2 separate regions of the Homo sapiens genome follow, and region 1 is linked to region 2. Evidence: promoter capture Hi-C in 16 types of primary human blood cells and fetal thymus (Javierre and others, 2016). All regions are on one chromosome and are shown on one strand. The core of a region is centred on a gene start or on the middle of the fragment in contact, and the rest is flanking DNA. Distances in the headings are between cores, read along the strand shown.

The links. The method cuts DNA at HindIII sites, captures the fragments that hold promoters and counts their contacts. A CHiCAGO score of 5 or more calls a contact.
Region 1: a contact is called between a fragment that was not itself captured here and the fragment with the promoter of ERCC2 in region 2, in 1 of 17 cell types (monocytes). The highest score is 6.2, in monocytes.

What each region holds. Positions count from the first base shown.
Region 1 is chr19:45,565,135-45,571,827 of GRCh38, forward strand. All of the region lies in intron 1 of OPA3 (outer mitochondrial membrane lipid metabolism regulator OPA3), which reads right to left. Among named protein-coding and RNA genes, the nearest start is that of OPA3, 16 kb to the right of the region's middle. The HindIII fragment of the contact is 3,482 bases long and covers 3,374-6,693 here.
Region 2 is chr19:45,369,323-45,376,615 of GRCh38, forward strand. It overlaps ERCC2 (ERCC excision repair 2, TFIIH core complex helicase subunit), which reads right to left and starts at 1,251. Exons shown (of 23, transcript NM_000400.4): 1 at 1,214-1,251; 2 at 811-910. The coding sequence starts at 1,218. RefSeq lists enhancers at 5-846, 1,465-1,544, 6,019-6,856, 6,857-7,293. The HindIII fragment of the contact is 22,978 bases long and covers 1-7,293 here.

The DNA.
Region 1 (6,693 bases), core at 3,865-6,364, 200 kb after region 2:
GAGGTAGGAGAATTGCTTGAACCTGGGAGGCGGAGGTTGCAGTGAGCCGAGATGGTGCCACTGCACTCCAGCCTGGTGATAGAGCAAGACTCCGTCTCAAAAAACAAAACAAAAAACAAAAAACAAAATTTTCTCTTGGATTGCATTATCATGCAATTTCTATTAGTATACCACTGATCGAAACTGCACGCATTACATAATTTGATGTCTAGTGGCTGGGCGTGGTGGCTCACGCCTGTAATCCCAGCGCTTTGGGAGGTCGAGGCGGGTGGATCACCTGAGGTCAGGAGTTTGAGACCAGCCTGGCCAACATGGTAAAAACCCGTCTCTAGTAAAAATACAAAAATTAGCCGGGCATGGTGGCATGACCCTGTAATCCCAGCTACCCGGGAGGCTGATGCAGGAGAATCGCTTGAACCTGGGAGGCGGAGGTTGTGGTGAGCTGAGATCATGCCATTGCACTCCAACCCGGGCGACAGAGTGAGACTAACTTTTGTATTTAGTCTAATTACGGCTAATTTTTGTAATTCTAGTAGAGACAGGGTTTCACCATATTGGTAAGGCTGGTCTTGAACTCCTGACCTTAAGTGATCCACCTGCCTCAGCCTCCCAGAGGCTGGGATTATAGCCATGAGCCACCGCGCCCGGCCACAAAAAGATTTTTAAATTAGCTGTACGTGGTGGTGCATGCCTGTGGCCCCAGCTACTCAGAAGGCTCAGAAAGGAGGATCACTTGAGCCCCCAGGTTCAAGGCTGCAGTGAGCCATGATCCTGCCACTGTACTGCAGCCTGGGTGACAGAGTGACACTTGGTCTTAATCAAATCAATCAATCAATCAAATCTGACAAAGACATACAAGAAAATAAAATTATAGAATATGTCACTGATGACCACAGATGAAATCTTTAGGAAAATATTAGCAAACGAAAGCCAGCAATATATAAAAAAGATAATATAGCATAATCAAGTGGGATTTCTGCAGGAATATAAGATTGGTTTAATATTCTTTTTTTTATTATTATTATTGTTTTTTGAGATGGAGTCTTGCTCTGTCGCCCAGGCTGGAGTGCAAAGGCGCAATCTCAGCTCACTGCAACCTCTGCTGCCAGGGTTCAAGTGATTCTCCTGCCTCAGCCTCCCGAGTATCTGGGATTACAGGCGCAGACCACTGTGCCCTGCTAATTTTTGTATTTTTAGTAGAGTTAGGGCTCTGCCATGTTGGCCAGGCTGGTCTCTAACTCCTGACCTCAGATGATAATACCCGCCTTGGAGTCCCAATGAGCTGGGATTACAGGAGTGAGCCACCACTCCCTTAGATGATCCACCAGCCTGATTTTTCTCTTTTTTTTTTTTTTGAGACGGAGTCTCGCTCTGTCGCCCAGGCTGGAGTGCAGTGGATGATCTCGACTCACTGCAACCTCTGCCTCCTAGGTTCGAGTGATTCTCCTGCCTCAGCTTCCCAAATAGCTGGGACTACAGGCACGTGCCACCATGCCCAGCTAATTTTTTTTTTGTATTTTTAGTAGAGACAGGGTTTCACCATGTTGGCCAGGCTGGTCTCAATCTCCTGACCTTGTGATCCGCCCGCCTTAGCCTCCCAAAGTGCTGGGATTACAGGCGTGAGCCACCGCACCTGGCTCAGCCAGCTGCTTATAAAATTAAATATAACCTTACCATATAACCCAGAAATTTTACTCCTAGATAATTACTGGGAGAATTTCATTTCTACCAAGAGAAATGAAAACATCCATATAAAGGCTTGTACACAAATGTTCATAGCACCTTTACTTGCAATAACTTGGAAACAACCCAAATGCCCATCACTAGGACAGTTATTAAACAAAGCATGGCATATTCATATACTGTAATAAAAGAAAAGAATACACTTTTATTAAGAGTAATAAACAAAATAACAAAATAAACTAGACAGGCATGGTGGCTCACACTTGTACCCCAGCACTTTGGGAGGCCAAGCGGTGAGGATCACCTGGGCCCATGAGTTCAAGACCACTATCGGCAACTTAGTGAGATCCATCTCTACAAAAAATAAAATAAATTAGCCGGGCATGGTGGCATGTGCCTGTGGTCCCAGCTACTCAGGAGGCTGAGGCAGGAGGATCGCTTGATCCCAGGAGGTTGAGGCTGCAGTGAGCCGTGTTTGTGCCACTGCCCTCCAGCCTGGGTGACAGGGGGAGACCCTGTGTCAAAAAAAAAAAAAAAAAAAGAAGAAGAAGAAATGAACTATTGATACATTCAGCAAGAAGTATCTCAGAAGTATCAAATGAACAAAAGCTAAACATAAATTTCATAGTGTATGATTCCATTTATATCAAGTTGAACAACAAGCAGAACTAATCAACAAGGAGAGAAGTCAGATAAGGAGACAGAGCAGGGGAGGAGGGACCTTTCTAGAGTAATGACGATGTTTTATATCTTGGGTACTAGTTACATGGGTATATGCATGTACCAATACTCATTGAACTGTAGCCTTTAGATCTGTACCTTGCATTGTACAGATACTATATCTCAACAAAGAATATACCAAAAAAATCAAGTGCCAATAATTAAACATAAGAGGAGGAGTTTGGGAGCCAGTGGGATATGACTTCTTATCCTGTACTGCCTCAGGGAACCTGTTTCTCTCGCTTTGAGAGATTTCCTCACTCATAAAACCAGGATGGTCATAAACTCCCTAAATAAGGTGGTTAAGATCATTTGCTGAGATAATGGAAAGCATATTAAATAAAAGCTGTTATTATCAGTCAATAAATTATTATTCAGGGTAAACGTAGCTTCAAGCCAGTCTCTGCCCTGGTTGCACTTCCCCAGATGTGATCCAGTCAGATGATGATGATGATGACAATGATTATTACTGTTATTTTGAGACACAGTCTCACTCTATCACACAAGCTGGAGTGCACTGGTACGATCTCAGCTCACTACAACCTGAGCCTCCAAAGGTCAAGTGATTCTCCAGTTTTAGCCTCCCAAAATGCTGGTATTACGGGTGTTGGCCACCCCACCTGGCAATCCAGTCAATTTATTTATTTATTTTGTTATTTATTTATTTTTTGAGACAGAGTCTTGCTCTGCCACCTAGGCTGGAGAGCAGTGACACAATCTCGGCTCACTGCAACCTCTGCCTCCTGGTTTCAAGCCACCCTCCTGCCTCAGCCTCCCGAGTAGCTGGGATTACAGGCATGCCCCACCACATCTGGCTAATTTTTGTATTTTTAGTAGAGATGGGGTTTCACCATGTTGGCCAGGCTGGTCTCGAACTCCTGACCTCAGGTGATCCGCCCACCTCGGCCTCCCAAATTGCTAGGATTACAGGTGTGAGCCACTGTGCCCCCGCCCAATCCAGCCAGTTTTAAGCTTGCCCTAACAGTGCTCCAAGTATTAACAGAATTGTGCAGGCCGCAATAGGCAGTGCTTCCTCCCACAGACCTGGCTTGATCTTTCCATTACAGCAACCCGAGACTGCAGTAACACACAATGCTCCAGTTACCAGAGGGGCATGACTGGTTCCATCTGCCCAGCATCCTGGGGGATCCTATCTCCCCAACTTTTGGTTCAAGGGATTCAGGAGGAGGTAACCCCACTCCTGAGCCTGGCCAATTAGGGCACTGCTTTCCCTGGGCCACAGAGACGGTGCTGGGATGGGGATGTGACGCAGGGTGGACCACTGGATTCAGCCTGGGAATTTGGCAGGAAATCCGGGATGAGGCACCCCTCTGTGCCCTGGGGTCACTAGGCAGGTAACTAATACCCTCAAATGTGCCCCATGAGAGCAAGGATCTTTGTTCTGTTGACTACTGAGTCATGCCTCTTAGAACAGTTCCTGGCACACAGCAGGCACTAAATAAAGATTTGTTGAGTGAATGAATTACTCAGCCTCCTAATGGACTGAAGCATAGCCACACCCCAGAAAATGATCCCCACCTCTACTCTCCTCCCAGGCCTGGAGAGACCAACTCAACTTGGTATAGAGGATACTCAGGGGTTTCTAAGGCTCAGAGGACGCAATTAACAGAGAGGCTAGGGCCGAGCGCTGTGGCTCACGCCTGTAATCCCAGCACTTTGGAAGGCCAAGGCAGACAGATTACTTGAGGTCAGGAGTTCAAGACCTCCCTGGCCAACATAGTGAAACACCGTCTCTACTAAAAATACAAAAATTAGCTGGGCGTGGTGGCGGGCACCTGTAGTCACAGCTATTCAGGAGGCTGAAGCAGAAGAATCACTTGAACCCAGGAGGCAGAGGTTGTAGTGAGCCGAGATCGCGCCACTGCACTCCAGCCTGGGCGACAGAGCAAGACTCTGTCTCAAAATAAACAAAAAAGATTTCAGAACAACTTCAGTGCGTCTGATTACCAGTGCTACTTTATATTATTCTCTACTGTCTTAGTAATTCCATCCTCCCCACCTCCATTAGAGTTTAGAAGCCGATACTCACCACTGCAACCTCCCATACACCAAGGGGTGGGAGGTGACCCGGTTGTGGTAAGCTGGCAGTGAGGGGAGTTTCCTGGGGGCTTCTGGAAAAGGATTTTCCTCCTTGAAGCGTTACCCTCACTTACCTGACCACCCGCCCCTCCATACACACACGCATAGACTTCCTCCCTTATGAAACATAAAGGCACAATGCCTGGAGCCGCAGCAGCCCTACTGAGGCCATGAGGACTGCCTGAGCACCAACACAGCAGAGATGGAGTCCTCAGGTTCCCAATGACACCACTGAGCCACCAAACCAACCAAGAACAGGCCTTCCTCAGGGCTTACTGAAAAGCCAGCAAAAAACACCCTTTTGATTTAAGGTTTGATTGACATTTACTGGCTGGGTTTTCAATTAATTACAGATGAGCACAAACTAATACAGAGATACACCGGGGTCAATGACCGAGATGGCCTCTGGTGCTTTCTCAGGCAGGCGCCATCCCCAGGCTGACACGGGCGCCCTCTCCTGTCCACTTGGCATATTGCTTGCAGCCAGCGCAAGTAGATTCCCTGGGATGCACTCAGGTTGCAAATCAGCCAGCCCTCTACACAGGGGCTTCTGAAAAAGATCCCTGTTCAGAAATCGGCCAGAAGATTTAGCCATGAGTACATGAGCAAATTCCAGCAAATGCCTCTGCATAATGAAGGGTGGGACTAAAAAAGGAGCAGCGAGATTAAACGCAGCCAATGACACACTTCTTCCATCTGAGACTATGTGCCTTAGTTAGGTCTTTGCCAGCTGTGACAGCCACATACAAAGAATGTCAAAGCTGGCTGGGAGCGGTGGCTCATGCCTGTAATCCCAGCACTTTGGGAGACTGAGGTGGGCAGATCACCTGAGGTCAGGAGTTCGAGACCAGCCTGGCCAATATGGTGAAACCCTATCTCCAATAATAATACAAAAAAAAATTAGCTGGGCATAATGGCACACCCCTGTAATCCCAGCTACTTGGGAGGCTGAGGCAGGAGAATTGCTTGAACCTGGGAGGTGGAGGCTGCAGCGAGCTGAGATTGAACCACTGCACTACAGCCTGGGCGACAGAGTGAGACTCCATCTTGGGGAAAAAAACAAAAACAAAACAAAATTAGCCGGGTGTGGTGGCAGAAGCCTGTAATCCCAGCTGCTCGGGAGGCTGAGGCAGGATAATCACTTGAACCTGGGAGGTGGAGGTTGTAGCGAGCCGAGATTGTGCCACTACTCTCCAGCCTGGGCGACAGAGTGAGACTCTGTCTCAAAAAAAAAAAAAAAAATTCAAAGCCAGACTCTCACAGAGGGTTTCACCAAGAGTTTCCAAATTTACTTAATAATGTCTGCATAGGAAAATGTTTTCGGTGACAGCAAAACTATTTGGGGGGGGGGGGCATGAATAAATAAGTTTATTTTAAAAATTTTTATGTTCGTTTCATCCCTCTAATTTTTGTGTATGTTTTTAAATGCATATAATATAACCATACTATTATATGTTAGCGCTATACATGACTGCTAAATACTTTCATTTATTTATTTATTTACTTATTTTATTTTATTTTTTTGAGACAGGGTCTTGCTCTGTCGCCCAGGCTGGAGTGCAATGGTGCGATCTTGGCACACCGCAACCTCCACCTCCCGGGTTCAAGCGATACTCTTGCCTCAGTCTCCCAAGTAGCTGAGATTACAGGCATGCGCCACCATGCCCAGCTAATTTTTTGTATTTTTTTAGTAGAGACGGGGTTTCTCCATGTTGTTCAGGTTGGTCTTGAACTCCCCGCCTCAGGGGATCCACCCGCCTTGGACTCGCAAAGTGCTGGGATTACAGGCATGAGCCACCGTGCCTGGCTGACTGCTAAATAATTTTACATATGTGTACACACGTGCATACATATATGCTAGGGAAGGAACCTCAGAAGTGTTTCCTTGATAGGAGAACATAATAATAAATGTTTGGAGGTCACCAGCAGCAGCCTGGCTGCCATATAATATAACTGATGTGACGCTCTGGTGATTATAAATAAACTCCAGCAAAGTGATTTTCAAACACTGGTGCGTGTGAGAATGTACTCTAGAGACTGCTAAAAATAAACACGTCCACCCCTTCCCTACGTCCACCAAATCAGGACCTGCAGGTAGCACTCCTGGGCATCTACTGGAAGTGCCCCAGAAAGCTCACTAGTTTTCCTCCATATTGTGCACCTTTCAGCTCCCCAATCCTCTTGGCAGTT
Region 2 (7,293 bases), core at 1-2,500:
GTCTTAGGCAAGTACCTTCACCTCCCCAGACCTCAGTATCCCTATCTCTAAAATGAGCCTAAAGCCAGGCGTGGTGGCTCACACCTGTAATCCCAGCACTTTGGGAGGCTGAGGCAGGTGAACCACCTGAGGTCAGAAGTTCAAGACCAGCTGGGCCAACAAGGTGAAACCCCGTCTCTACTAAAAATACAAAAAATTAGCCAGATGTGGTGGCGCGCACCTGTAATTCAATCTCAAAAATAAATAAATAAAATAAAATGGGCCTAATAATAAAACCTTCCTCATAACATGACTATGAGGATTGTGAGAAATTGCAGGTTAAATATTTGGCACAGTAGCTGATATATAGTGAACTTTTCTCCCTTCTTTTTTAAGAGACAAGTGTCACTATTGCCCAGGCTGGAATGCAGTGGCACAATCATGGCTCACTGCAGCCTCCAACTCCTGGCCTCAAGCGATCCTCCTGCCTCAGCCTCCCGAGTAGGTGGGATTACAGGCGCCCGCCACCACACCTGGCTAATTTTTGTATTTTTAGTACAGACGGGGTTTCACCGTGTTGGCCAGGCTGGTCTCCAACTCCTGACCTCAAGTGATCCGCCCGCCTCGTCCTCCCAAAGCTCTGGGATTACAGGCGCGAGCCACCGCGCCCAGCCTATTCACCATTATTGTTTTAGATAACGGAAGATTATGGGGTCCTGGATTCCCAGGGACCTCGGACTTCTAAAATCCAGACGTCCTGCAATCTGTCTTAGGCCCAGGCGTGGCAGCCCCACCGGTCGAGTGGGCGGGTCGGGCCCACCGGCCACCCACCTTGGCGTCCAGCGTGCGTTTGAGCTCCCGCATGTAGGAGAACTGCTCGGGGTAGATGTAGTCGTACGGGAAGTAGACCAGGAGCCCGTCCACGTTGAGCCTGGCGGCAGGGGCTGCTGGGTCAGTTCCCGTCCCCTCAGCCCCTCTCCCGCCTCCACAGTGCCCGGTCGTCGAGCCCAGAGAAGGGTGACGGGCCCGGCGCCCCCGGTAACCCTCAGGTCCTCAGGAGCCTCGGGGCCCCCTCAGTGTCTCCTCGCTATCACTGCTGCTCCCTGCGGCTGCCCCCGTCCCACCCCTTCACCCTCCCCTCGCCCCCTTGGGGACCCAGGCGCGCCCACCGATGACCCCATCTTCAAGACCCCCCGCGCCCGCTAGCGAGCGCGACCCCCAGCCCCCTTCTCACTTCATGGCGCCGGCCGGACTGTGCAGCGGGGTCGACCCGCCTCCCTCATGAATATTCAGCGAGAGGCCGGGTCGTGGACATCCTCGAGGGCTCGCTCCACCTATATTACGAGACCATTGGCTAACCTGCCCGTCAATCCGCTAGGGCAGAGCCAATCGGGATACTGCGCGTGCGCACGGAAAAGCGAGGGCGGCTGACTCTCGGGTGAGGCGGTGCGGGAGGCGTCACTGAGGATCGTCGAGGGCCAATCAAAAAGAAAACATGGAAGGGAAAGAGCCGAGAGACTCGATCTCATTCACTAGAATTTGGTCCTCCTGCGCCTGCCAAGATTGTCTGAGTATTGATCGAACCCAGGAGTTCGAGATCAGCTTGAGCAAGATAGCGAGAACCCCCGCCCCTCCACCTCGTCTCAAAAAAAAAAAAAAATCGTCTCAGTAGCGAATAGTCTAACGGAGAATGACAGGGAAATTGGTGATCCTTTCTGGGCCCAAGAGTTAGAAATGGCTTTGCAGGCCGGGCGCGGTGGCTCAAGCCTGTAATCCCAGCACTTTGGGAGGCTGAGGCAGGTGGATCACCTGAGGTCGGGAGTTCAAGACCAGCCTGACCAACATGGAGAAAACCTGTCTCTACTAAAGATACAAAATTAGCCGGGCGTGCTGGCAAATGCTTGTAATCCCAGCTACTCGGGAGGCTGAAGCAGGAGAATTGCTTGAACCTGGGAGGCAGAGGTTGCAGTGAGCAGAGATGGCGCCGTCGCACTCTAGCCTGGGCAACAAAAGCGAAACTCCATTTCAAATATTAATAATAATAACTAATAAATAAAACATAAATGCTAGCTTTTGTTTGTTTCTTCAACAAATAGCTATGTGGCATCTACCATGTGTCTGATCCTGTGCTGGCCCCTGGGAACAGAAAGGTGACCATGACAGCCTCAGCACCTGCCCTCAAAGAACAGATTTTTTTCCTTGAGACAGGGTCTTTCTCTGTCGCCAAGGCTGGAGTGCAGTGGCACAGTCACAGCTCACTGCAGCCTCCACCTCTTGGGCTCAAGCGATCCTCCCACCTCAGCTTCCAGAGTAGCTGGGACCACAGGTGTGCACCACCAAGCCCAGCTAAGTTTTATTTTTTAAATTTTTTTAGAGACGAGGTCTCACCACGTTGCCCAGGCTGGTTAAACTCGCAGGTTCAAGTGATCCTCTCCCCTCAGCCTTTCAAATTGTTGGGATTACAGGGGTGAGGCACCAGGCCTGGCCTCAAAGAACAGATATTAAATATACAAATGAATATATGATTACAGCCTGGAGTGGTGGCTCGTGCCTGTGGTTCCAACACTTTGGAAGGCCAAGGCGAGTACATTGCTTGAGCTCAGGAGCTAGAGACCAGCCTGGGCAACATGGTGAAAACCCGTCTCTACAAAAAATGCAAAAATTAGCTGGGCGTGGTGGCGTGCACCTGTAGTCCCAGATACTCAGGAGGCTGAGGTGGGAGAATCACCTGGGCCTGGGAGGCAGAGGTTGCAATGGGCAGTGATTGTGCCACTGCACTCCAGCCTGGGCAACAGGAGTGAAAACCTATCTCAAATGTGTGTGTGTGTGTGTGTGTGTGTGTGTGTGCGCACGTGTATAATCACAAGTACAAAAGTGCTGTGAAGGAAAACTTCAAGTCACCATAAAGATTGATTATGGGCTGGGTGCAGTGGCTCATGCCTGTAATCCCAGCACTTTGGGAGGCCAAGGCAGATGGATCACGAGGTCAGGAGTTCAAGACCAGCCTGGTCAACATGGTGAAACCCTATCTCTACTAAAAAAAAAAAAAAAAAAAAAAAAGCCAGGCATAGTGGCATGCATCTGTAATCCCATCTACTCGGGAGGCTAAAGCAGGAGAATTGCTTGAACCCAGGAGGCAGAAGTGAGCCAAGATCACGCCACTGCACTCCAGCCTGCGTGACAGAGCAAGACTCCGTCCCAGAAAAAGAAAAAAAAAAAAGACTTATTATGACAGGATGTCTACTGTCAACTGTGGGGTGTGAGTGTTGGCCAAGTGATCAGAGAAGGCTTCGTGGAAGAAGCGAGGTTTGAGTAGAGCCAGAAAATAATTAGAAGAGATCAACCAGCAAGAGGGGATGGATGAGAGAAGTGAGAAAGGTGTTCCAGGGAGAGAGACCATCATACACAAAAGCTCTAGGCCAGAAGAAAGCTGAGGCCTGTGAGTGCTGAAAGGAAGCCTGTGGGGGTGGAGCTCTGAGTTGAGCACAGGGAGCAGAGAAAGGGCAGCTGGAGGGGAAGGCAGGGGCAGATCGAAATCTCTTTTTTAAATTAATTAATTCTTAATTTATTTATTTTTGAGACAAGGTCTCACTCTTTCGCCCAGACTGGAGTACAGTGGCACAATCTCAGCGCACCGCAACCTCTGCCACCCAGGCTCAAGCAATTCTCTGGCCTCAGCCTCCCTAGTAGCTGGGATTACAGGTGCGCACCACTACTGCCCAGCTAATTTTTATACTTTTAGTAGAAACGGGGTTTCACTATGTTGGCCAGGCTGGCCTCAAACTCCTGACCTCAAAAGATCCACCCACTTCAGCCTCCCAAAGTGCTGGGATTACAGGTGTGAGCCACCCTTCCCGGCTGTATTTTTGGAGACAGAGTCTTGCTCTGTCCCAGCCTGGAGTATGGTGGTGTGAATTTGGCTCATTGCCACCTTGACCTCCAGGGCTCAAGTGATCCTCCCACCTCAGCCTCCTGAGTAGCTGGGACTGCGGGTACACGACACCACGCCTGGTTAATTTTTTTTAATTTTTTGTAGAGACGAGGGTATCTCACTATGTTGTCCAGGCTGGTTGAACTCCTGAGCTCAAGCAATTCTCCCACCTCAGCCTCCCAAAGTGGTGGGATTACAGACGTGAGCCACTGTGCCCGGCTTAATTTATTTACATAAATTTTTTTATGTTTACTTTTCTATCTCCTACAGGAAGAAAATATATTTTGTTATTGACAGGGTCTCGCTATGTTGCCCAGGCTGGTATTGGGCTCAAGCCATCCTGTTCCCTCAGCCTCCCAAAGTACTGGGATTACAAGCGTGAGCCTCTGCATCCAGCCCAGATCCAAAATCTTTACTGTCACCTACAGAGTCCTCTGTAACTAGCTTACTGCTCATCATCCCCATACCAACCCACCTTACTGCTCTGATCTCCTCCTCTCTCTCCCCCAGCTCATTTTGTTTCAGCTATGCTGGTCTCCTTGCTGTCTCTAAAACATAACAAGCACATCCCATCTCAGGGCCTTTGCACCAGCTATTTTGTCTGCCTGGAATGCTGTTTCCCCTGATAGCCATGTGGCTGACACACTCACCTCCCTCAGCTCTTTGCTCAATTGTCAACTTCTCGGCCCGGCATGGTGGCTCACACCTGTAATCCTACCACTTTGGGAGGCTGAGGTGGGCAGATCACCTGAGATCAGGAGTTCGAGACCAGCCTGGCCAAGATGGTGAAATCCCGTCTCTACTAAAAATACAAAAATTGGCAAAGCATGGTAGCACATACCAGTAATCCTAGCTACCCGGGAGGCTGAGGCAGGAGAATTGCTGGAACCCGGGAGGCAGAGGCTGCAGTGAGCCAAGATCATGCCACTGTACTCCAGCCTGGGTGACAAAGCAAGACTCTGTCTCAAAAAAAAAAAAGTCTCCTTCTCAATGAGGGCTTCCTGACCACCAAATTAAATCTACCTCCTAGACACACACACACACGCACGCACGCACGCACACACACACACGCACGCACGCACACACACACACACACACACACTATATCCCCTTTCCCTGCTTTATTGTTCTTGAGAGCTCATTTAACCATGTGACATGCTGAATATTTTACTTATTTATTTTGTTTAGAAAGCTCCTGGCTGGGCGCGGGGGCTCACGCCTGTAATCCCAGCACTTTGGGAGGCTGGAACAGGTGGATCATGTGAGGTCAGGAGTTCCAGACCAGCCTGACCAACACGGTGAAACCTCATCTCTATTAAAAATGCAAAAATTAGCTGGGTGTGGTGTCGCATGCCTGTAATCCCAACTACTCAGAAGGCTGAAGCAGGAGAATCGCTTGAACCTGGGAGGCAGAGGTTAACGCTGAGCCGAGATCGCGCCATTGCACTCCAGCCTGGGCAACAAGAGTGAAACTCTGTCTCGAAAAAAACAAAAGTCAGCTCCATGGCAGGAGTGATGGCTCACGCCTATAATCCCAGCACTTTGTGAGGCCGAGGCGGGCGGATCACTTGAGGTCAGGAGTTGGAGACCAGCCTGGCCAACATGGTGAAACCTCATCTCTACTAAAAATACAAAAATTAGCCGGGCGTGGTGACACATGTCTGTAGTCCCAGCTACTTGGGAGGCTGAGGCTGGAGAATGGCTTGAACCTGGGAGGTAGAGGTTGCAGTAAGCCAAGATCGCGCCATTGCTCTCCATCCTGGGCAACAGACTCCGTCTCAGAAAGGAAGAAAGAAGGAAAGAGAGAAAGAGAGAAAGAGACAGAGAGAGAGAGAGAAAGGGAGAAAGAGAGAAAGGATGGAAGGACCCTGACAAGCACTGTTGCATAAAAGTTTCTTTTCTCTCTCTTTTTTTTTTTTTTTTTTTTTTGAGACAGGGTCTCACTTCTGTTGCTCCAGCTGAAGTGCAGTGGTGAGAACATGGCTCAGTGCAGCCTCAACTTCCCAGGCTTAAGTGATCCTGCCACCTCAGCCTCCTGAGTAGCTGGGACTGTAGGTGTGCACCACCGTGCCTAGCTAATTTTTTGTATTTTTAGTAGAGACATGGTTCCGCCACGTTGCCCAGGCTGGTCTTGAACTCCTGGGCTTAAGGGATCTGCCCGCCATGGCCTCCCAAAGTGCTGGGATTACCAGCGTGAGCCACTGTACCCAGCCTGAGTATAGGTTTCTGATAAATTTTAGGATCATATTGTTTGGACTGGGTAAGAATTTCCAGAACTCTAATGAAGAAACTGACTGGTTTATATTTTATTTTATTTTATTTTATTATTTTTGAGATGGATTTTCACTCTTGTTGCCCAAGCTGGATTGCAGTGGCACGATCTTGGCTCACCACAACCTCCGCCTCCCGGTTTCAAGTGATTCTCCTGCCTCAGCCTCCCCAGGAGCTGGGATTACAGGCACCCACCACCATGCTCGGCTATTTTTTTTTTTATTTTTTTATTTTTAGTAGAGACGGGGTTTCACCATGTTGGCCAGGCTGGTCTCGAACTCCTGACCTCAGGTGATCCACCTGCCTTGGCCTCCCAAAGCGCTGGGATTACAGGCATGAGCCACTGTGCAAGGCCTAGGCTGGTTTATAAAATTGCTAAACCAAGCAGAACATGAATTAAATACCAAGGAAATACTCTCCTAGATTGTCATGTTACATCAGCCAATACTAAAATTGTCAAGATACACAATTTGAATGAACTCCATGGTCCAAGTCGAATTATCTATGATATTACCCATCTAATAAACAGCACTATGTCCCTTAATGGGAGAAAAAGTTGGAGAATTTAAGAGAATATCAATCCAATGTTGGTTGGGTGCAGTGAATCATGTCTATATTCCCAGCACTTTGGGAGGCCAAGGCAGGAGGATCACTTGAGCCCAGGAATTCAAGGCCAGCCTCGGCAACACGGTGAGATCCTGTCTCTACGGAAAATTAAAAAAAAAAAAAGAGAGAGATTAGTGGGATGTGGTGCCTATAGTCCCAGCTACTTGGGAGGCTGAGGCGGGAGGATCATTTAAGCCTGGGACGTTGAGGTTGCAGTGAACCATGAGTGAGACTCATCTCAAAAAAAAAAAAAAAATGGCGATCACTAGAGGAAAAAAAAACTAAAGTGGGGTTTGCGGGTAGTGGGAGGGCCCTTCCTGCTAGGTTGCACTATGATCTCCAGGGAGGCTCCACGGGAGAATCATTTCCTTGTCTTTTTCAGTTTCTAGAGCCAAATTCTTTGCATACCTTGCATTCCTTGGCTCGGAACCCCTTCCCTAACCTTCAAAGCTGGCAGCTAGCCTCTGGCTCAAGTGTCACATGGCCTGTCTCTGTCTTCCTATCCA